2 separate regions of the Homo sapiens genome follow, and region 1 is linked to region 2. The links are contacts of gene promoters, found by promoter capture Hi-C in blood cells and fetal thymus (Javierre and others, 2016). All regions are on one chromosome and are shown on one strand. Each heading gives the region's core, a stretch centred on a gene start or on the middle of the fragment in contact. The rest is flanking DNA. Distances are from core to core; before and after follow the strand shown. Region 1 overlaps MTRR (5-methyltetrahydrofolate-homocysteine methyltransferase reductase). Region 2 holds the start of ICE1 (interactor of little elongation complex ELL subunit 1).

Region 1 (2,700 bases), core at 91-2,590, 2.5 Mb before region 2:
AGCTTATTTCTCAAGGGCTCTTTAGGAACAAAGCACTTCAGTAATTATCTGCATCAAATGTTATGTGAAATGCTAATGGGTACTGCTACTTTAAATTCCATGGCTCAAGATGATTGTGTCCTGGACTTCCTTAACAGGGAGGACAAAATCACTGTTCCCAAAGGAGTCACAGGTTTCCAAAGGTTTGGCTGAAGAATCTCTGTCTAAAATACCTGGACACTAACAAATTACACGTGTTCCTCCAAGTGCCAAACTCAGCATTGACCAAAAACAACGACTCAGGAAACACTGCTGAATGGACGCCCCAAATCTCTGCAAAGACTTTGGCAAGATAATAAAAACATCTACCAATAACAGTTTGTAAATTCTAAAGCCAATACAATCTCCTAAATTAAAAGCTAAAACAGTGACAATTTTTCCTTTAACATACTTTTTTCACTTTAGAACTACAAAAACTTTATGGTACTACAACAGGAAATACTGCACTGTTTTTGGAGAACAAGATGACAAACCTGACAAACATTACTACAATTTAAAATGTAAATATTTTTAAAACAGCAATTCTACTCCAAGGAATTTGTTTTACAAATATACTTCAAGTAAGTGTTCAAAAATTAATACAGTACAAGAAAGTTTGCCTTTTTTAATAGTGAAAAAGCAAAAATGACTCAATTGCCCATAATTACATCAACAAATAATGGTGTATCCATAGTATCCATTAAAACTCTTTCCATCCTGAAATATACAGATTCTTGATTTAAGTTAAAAAGGCAAGTTATGGAACAGCACATATAATATGGATACCCATATTTTCCTCAGGAAAACAAAATTCAAGTGTTAACTCAGAGGGTTTGATTATAAAATACTTTGGTTTCCTGGGTTATTTCTGTATCCAGAATTTTTCCAATGAGCATACTATTTTTGAAAAAACCCATATATATATATATATATATATATATATATATATATATGCACACACACACACACAAATATATACATACACACACATATATACACACACATATATATACACATATACAGACATACACACACACTTTACACAAATTTTAAAAGGGTAGAGCTGAACCAAAATTGTGACTTAATCGGTAAGCTTTCATTACAGTAAATTAATTCTAAATACTCAAATTACATCTCGAGCTGATTACCAGGAAAGGAAGATGGAATATATATATATATAAATCTATATATATATAAATATACATATATTTATTTAGAGAGCTGAGCCTCTCTCTAAAGTACTTTACTCACCCAAGACTAGAAATGCAATAAACACATTAATAAAACGACACGAAAACCACACTGGGGAGATGGCGGCCTAATTACAACACTCTTTATGCTCACTGACAATACAAGTGTGGCAAGGCACATTTGAAAAATTGTATCCATTAATGGCCACTTCCGGGAGCTGGTTAGAAGAAATCAGTTACAAGTAGTTTTAAAAAAACAGTTCCTGGTACAATACTGACATCTAGTGGATTATTCTACCTCCAAGTTCACATAATAATTGATTATTACCTACCAAAACCCTTCCATTTTTCCTGAAGCTTTCTGTTACAGCAATAAATAGTTATGTAGTATTACACAAAGTAGATCTTAACAACTGTAGGAAGTGGCAAGTGGTGGTTGGGGGGAATCCTACGCTCTCATTAGCTTTCTGTCACCAATTAAAGAAGGAGCAGCAATGTGTAGCTGGGTAACACAAGGTCAACTGCAGTCACCTCCATCACTGTGGAATGTGCTACGTAGTTAATAACTAGTAAAAGTAAGACAAAGAAAAAGCCCTATTTAGACTAAGAAAAAGCCCTATTTAAGCCCTCATTTCAATAGAAAACAAAAATTTAAATGCAAATACAACATAAAAAGATTCATAGATGATAGTTACGATGATAGCACACACCCTTGGGAACTAATATTAAAAACATGCTATCAAGATCACATTTTTTAAGACTGCAAAGGGCATATTCTAAATTTGTTTAATCAATCCTAAATAAAGCTAAGCATATTTTAAAATAGTTACCTGAAGAAGACAGAAAAAAATACCTTTTTAGGAATTGCTCGGATTTCAAGACACCAGGTAAAAATGAACTGGAGAGAACATCCCGCAGGTATATGCTGGGGTAAGGTAGCTCCTTTTCAGGTAAAGACGGGAAAGGGGTTCATGACATAGAAGATGAAGAATAAAATGTTTTACACACTCCCCAAAACACAATTACTGTAGTACTTTACAGCGCATCAAAGTGCAACATGACTTGTGGCAATGTTTATTCAGCCAAAAAAATTCCCCAAAATGAATACAGTAAAAAACTCCACCTTACAAAAACATAAGAAGACTATAAATTCAAGATAGGCCAAATAAAAGAAAGGAAAATTATTTAAAATTAAGGAAATGAAAGCTAAAAAGACAGCAGTACTCCATTAGCATTATTCTTCTCAAAAAATCAATTTAGGACTACTTCAAGATTCTAAGTAAATAATATATTTATATTTTGAAAAATAAATAACTTCTCTTAATTATGGAAAAAGCAATTATTTTATATAATAAATGAGCAAAAACAAACATACTATGAGAAGTAAACATAATAGGAAAAGAATTTTTAAAAATAACCTAGGCCAATGCTTCTCAAAAACTACATTTACACTCAGTTTTCATGTCCACAAATGTCCAATAATTAGAACATC
Region 2 (5,661 bases), core at 3,162-5,661:
AGGGAGGATTAAGAAATGAAAGGAAGATTTTCAGTGCAAGCAAACCACTATTCAAGACAGAGAGGCAAGTTAGCCTAACATTACAGTTCAGAATGAAGTCACAACACCAATATGGTTGCCTACCATTGGAAAGACTGACTCCTATGTTACACTTGTAAATTCTCTGCATGATCAAAAAGTTAAAACTATAGCACAGAATATCTTCTCTCTGTACCTCTTTAGTTTCTCTCTCACACGAAAGTTTAATTGAAATATGGAACTTCACGTAGTTATAATACATGCGAAAATTATTTCCAAAAAGCGGTTATCTACTAATTGACCAAAAGAATTGCTTTTCCTTAATTCTCATTCTTTCCGATCTTGGTTCCCTCTGGAACTCTTGATTCCCTCTGGAACGCACTCCCTGTTTAACCCTCTAACATACTTTATCTGTTTCTCCTTTCCTCACCATTCCATGTTCCCCTTCATCAAAGGCCACACATCAGCTAGTTGGTTTTCCGTCACTGACTCTAATGATAGCATGTAATCCCATGAATTGGCCTCATGGTTTCAAAGATTCCTTTAAGTGACAGAACATAATGCCCCATTTTCCTATCCTCACACCTCCCTTCTGTCAAATAAGCTTTTTTTTTTTTTTTTTGAGACGGAGTCTTGCTCTGTCACCCAGGCTGGAGTGCAGTGGTGGCACCATCTCGGCTCACTGCAACCTCGGCCTCCCAGGTTCAAGCAATTCTCCTGCCTCAGCCTCCTGAGTAGCTGGGATTACAGGCGCATGCCACCATGCCCGGCTAATTTTTGTATTTTTCGTAGAGACGGGGTTTCACCATCTTGGCCAAGCTGTTCTTGAACTCCTGACCTCGTGATCCACTGCCTTGGCCTCCCAAAGTGTTGGGATTACAGGCATGAGCCACCGCTCCCAGCCCAGATAAAATTCTTACACTGAACACAGTGCACATCTAACCTGGCCTGCTATTTCCTTGAGGGATATTAGGGCACCTTGGAAGCACTGTGTTCCACAAACATTAAATCTGAAAATGGCTGAACACTCCTAGTTCTGATGTCATTCCAACTTCAGTCCCTTCCACCTTGATTTCCTCTTCCTCCTGTATCTACCACAGTTCTCATGGTCATTTGAGTTTTAAACCTCGGGACCTTCCATTTCCTGACATGAGACCTGCCCATTCTTTACACTGTCTCATATTCAGAACCTTTTTCTTCTTTATTCCCCTTCCCAGGAACCTTCAATTACTTCAGACTTTTGTTATCACTATTATGTATTAGTAAAATAATTTACCATACCTAGTTGCACCCCCCTTCAATCCATCCTGCATACCACCGTTACTTCTACTACAAGCACTGTCCTAACGTAACTATGCAAAAACCTTCACCATCCCATAACACTGACAGAAATAAGTACAAGAATTTATGATGGTTACCATTCAAGGTTCTCTATAAACTGCCAGGAACCTATTTTTCTAGACTCACTTTGCACAACTACAGAATTCCTCCAGAGACTCTACTCGTAACTTTCCCCTAAAAAGGTAATCCAATTCCAGGCCACAGAAAATCCAAATGCAATAGTGTCCTGACCTAGAGAAGAACTCTGTAAACTAAGGCCCTACTCCAGTGTTTATAATGTTTCAATGGAACACAGGCATACTCATTTCTTTGTGAATTGTCTACAGCTGCTTTCACATGAAAATGGCAGAGCTGAGCAGTTCTGAGCAAGTCCCCAAAGCCTAAATACTTGTGATCTTGCTCCTTACAGAAAAAGTTTGCAGACCTCTGGATCTAGGATTACTCTTATTGATGTTTTGAGAACCCACAGCAGGAAATGTGGCAAGGGTAGAAGGAAGGAGATTCAATTTCTAGGCCATACATTAGAGTAGTTCACACCACGGTGGAAGCAGTGGAGATGTTGAAAAGTGGGTGAATAATGAAGGCAGAGCGGACACAATCTGATAAACTGGATACAGGTTATGAGAAAAAAAGAGCTGCACCAAGGATGCCATCTAGTTTCTGGCCTAAGCAACCAGAAGAATACAGTTGCTAAATTTAACCATAACAGATCCATGACTGAAAAGCACAGTTCACATCAGTAGTTCTTCTGCACAAAAGCCTCCAATGACTCACCATTTCCATCGCCCAAACCCCAACAATGGTCTACAGGAGCCCACACAATCAGGCCCTCCTCCTACCTTCCTGACTCCCAGCATTCACTCCGCTCCAGCTTCACTGGCCTTCTTGCTCTTCCCAAGCACACCAAGCCAGCTCCTGCTACAGTTCTTCACATCTGATGTTTCCACTGTATGGGAGACTTTTCTTCCAAGATTTCTACAGAGCTTATTATTCTCTCACCTTTGCTCCAATATAAACGTTCCAGGACTCCCTACTTAAATTCCAACAGCCACTGGCCTAGTCCTCACCCATTCATTCCCTCCCCATCTCTGTTCAATTCATCAACAACGTTTTCATTACCCTCTAACATAACTCATTTGTTTCATTTATCCTGCCACCCTCCTAGAACGGAAGCTCCAAGAGATCAAGAATTTTTGTCTTTTTCTCCCCTAATGCCATAATTGCAGTGTCTAAAATACGGCAGGTGATCAATAAATGTTTGTTGAGTGAATTGGCTCGAATAATAAATACAATGTATTAAAGATTCGGGAGAACTCCAATCACGTTCCTGGGGTGGTGGTGGCGGGGGCGGGGGGGCGTTATAAGATACCTACACAATGCAGCTCAGTGAAGGCAATGATCTGTTAGTTCTCCTTCTACTCACAAAAGCAGCACATTTCCTTCCTCCCCTTCCTTCAACACTTAAAATGTTTGCAATCAGTTCACAGATATTGCACTTAAAATGCAAACCAAGTTTCTCGGCATGGCCTACCTAGCCTGCACTCCCGTCTGGTCTCATCAACCATCTTCCGTGTGCACTATGCTCATGCCAACCATACCATGTTCTGCTCATCAAAGACACCCTGCTCCTTCTCACCAAAGGAACCTTTCCACCTGTTAATCCCTCTATCCAGGAAGCTCTTCCCACATCTCTTCTGACAGCCCGATCCTTCCCATTATTCAAATATCTGAAAGTTACTGACTCAAAAATTCCCTACCTGACTACTCTAGCTAAGAGACAAGACCAATATTCCAACATCCTCCTTTATTTTCTAACACCTAAAATCTTCTGAGGCCTTATTCACACATATGCATCTTACTTATGAGAGATCCTATTTTGTTCACCACAATGTCTGTAGTTCCTAGAACACTAGGCAGAGTAGGTAATGAGGTGCTGGTGAGTTCCGTTTTATCACTGAAACCGCGATAGTAGGAAGTTAAAAGAGACCCCCGACATCAGGCAGCTAGGAGAGTCGTGGGAAATGAGGGGCACTATTGCCCAAGTACCACCCCATAAGATCTGGAGCCATACTCTAGCAATTCTCCCTTATGTCACTCTAAAGAAGAGCCCACGCCGCTGTTAGAAACCTCCAGTCTCTGCATGCCTTTCATAAACTACTTTTATCAAACAACTGACAAGCTACTTGACCAATTACTTGGCTTGCTTTTTAAAAAATTAGCCTCGGGATGGCACATCTGCTATAAGCTGAAACGCCTCCCTAGACTCTTCGAGTCTAAGACTCAGACAACCCACATGTCACGTAAGATTCTGCCTCCAAACAACAAATACTCAGGATGGGCCAGAAGACCAAAGCGTTATCCTCAGGGAGATAACTGCCCTCGGCGTTTCACCTGTCCCTCACTGACCTACGGAGTCTGCCCTAGGGAGCTCCGAGGCCGGGTAGGGAAGGTGGGGGGCCCTCCAAACCTCGCTTACTCCACCCCCACCGTTACACCAGCGCATTCCAGTCAATGAACTCTGGGTTTCAAGCTTAAATAAAGCAAAGAAAGCCGTCCCCAAAACTCATGTAGGAAAAAGAGAGCAGAGAGACGAGCGAGCAAGAGCTACGGTTGGGAAGGGAGAGCAGCGCACTGAGGCACAGCCCGCGCGGCCGGACCCCACATCCCTGCGCTCCCGGCCGGCCGAGCCGAGTCCCCCCCCGCGCCCGGGGCCCCGGGAGGTGCTGCACCTGCTGCAGAGAGGCGCAGCCCTGACATCGCGACAGGTCCGCCGCCGTCCCGGGCGCCGCCGAATGGGTCTCGCCCGGCATCATGGTGCCGCCGCCGGGCCCGGTGGGCACGCACGCCTCAGGGGCCCGCGGCGTCGGCCCCGTCCTGTCTCTGCTGATGCCGCCGGGGCCGCCGCCTGCCAGGCCGCTTCCCGCCAGGTCCGGGCGGGTCCATCCGTGCACAGAGGTCCCCGTGGGGCTAGCAAAAGGCTCTCCGAGCCAGAGCTGCCTCAGGCACTAAAAAGAAACGCTACCCGGCGCGGCCCCCGAGCGCGACGCAGTCCAGTCAGGGCCCCGCCCCGCCCTGGCTCGCCCCGCCCCGCCCTGGCTCGCCCCGCCCCTCCCCTGGGCGCGGGGCTGCCTAAGGCGCTGCCTGAGCAACACCGGGAGAGGAGCTGTGCTATGCGGCGGGGGAGACGCCCACAGAGGAGCAGCCAATAGGAGTAGAAGGATCGAAGGTGCATTCCTACCACTGTTAAGGGTCGATCCTTTATTGCCACCTTGCTGTACGACAGGCTTTCCATAGACACCTAAAGGCCTCCGCTATGTGGGCGGTGACCCGCCCGTGACGTAAGCTCCAGACGCCTGAGAAGTGGAAGGACCCGGCGTCCAGGACAGGAAAGTGCGTGATTTACAGCTAGAGGGATAGGCGCTGTCCCGGAGCCCGTCCTGGGCCAGGGAGCAGGAGAGGGAGGGACTACAGTTCCCGACGCGCTGCGGGGCGGGCGGAGATCGTGCGCTTCGGCGCCAGTTGCACGGCCTTAGCAGCCAGTGGCGGCTCCCCTGCTCCTGTAACAGTCCCCTTGTCTTCTGACCTTTCGCTCCTCGGTCATGTGTCCTCGCCGGTCGCCGCGGCAGCCAGTGATGCCCGAGCGGCGGGTTCCCAGGCCCAGGTGTGGGCGCCACCGCCCACCATGCGCCAAGCCCAGAGCCTGGTTGAATCGTTCGCCACCTTGTCTACCCATTTTGGCCATTATCCTGCCACCTCCAAATCCTGTTTTTGACACTTCTCGGGAGAGAGAGAAAACGGAAAGATAAAGGAATAAACTCCTCGTGGTCGTAGTTAGTGGGTAAATTCAGATCTCGTTTGAACCGAGGTTTTTCTTATCTCCAGCCACCGTATCCACCACCACCAGAATCGTCTTTTTAGTCATCACAGCTGGTCGCCGTCAGTACCTTGTTCAGAAGCCTCTCGCAGCTTCCATCGTGTGGTTATACAATCCAAATTCCTTATAAAGTCCAAATTCAAGAGGAGGAATGCACGTTTAGTTAAGTTAATGTCTAGACCTTACCAGCCAATTTCTAGCTCCTCAGTATGGAAATTGCAACTGAAAACACCCCTTCCAAAAAAAGCAGTCTGCATTTTTCTCTGAGTTTTCTTCTCCAAATTTCGCACCCCTGACCTTGCTTACACACTCTGGATACCACCTGCTGTGGAGTGGCGGAAGCAGACATCCAGCGATAGCTAAGTTTCCTGTCGTTGACACCCAAGCAAGACAGGCGTGTACCTAACTGAGGACCTGCCGGTGATAGA

The links. The method cuts DNA at HindIII sites, captures the fragments that hold promoters and counts their contacts. A CHiCAGO score of 5 or more calls a contact.
Region 1: a contact is called between a fragment that was not itself captured here and the fragment with the promoter of ICE1 in region 2, in 2 of 17 cell types (naive CD8 T cells and naive B cells). The highest score is 7.7, in naive CD8 T cells.

The regions. Positions count from the first base shown.
Region 1 is chr5:7,886,065-7,888,764 of GRCh38, reverse strand. MTRR (5-methyltetrahydrofolate-homocysteine methyltransferase reductase) reads right to left here. Exons shown (of 15, transcript NM_002454.3): 8 at 2,062-2,150. Among named protein-coding and RNA genes, the nearest start is that of MTRR, 18 kb to the right of the region's middle. The HindIII fragment of the contact is 454 bases long and covers 1,114-1,567 here.
Region 2 is chr5:5,421,427-5,427,087 of GRCh38, reverse strand. It overlaps ICE1 (interactor of little elongation complex ELL subunit 1), which reads right to left and starts at 4,411. Exons shown (of 19, transcript NM_015325.3): 1 at 4,089-4,411. The coding sequence starts at 4,172. It overlaps LOC101929200 (a long non-coding RNA gene), which reads left to right and starts at 4,959. Exons shown (of 6, transcript XR_001742583.3): 1 at 4,959-5,661. RefSeq lists silencers at 3,979-4,118, 4,179-4,508 and enhancers at 4,539-4,788, 4,654-5,164, 5,165-5,661. The HindIII fragment of the contact is 2,607 bases long and covers 3,892-5,661 here.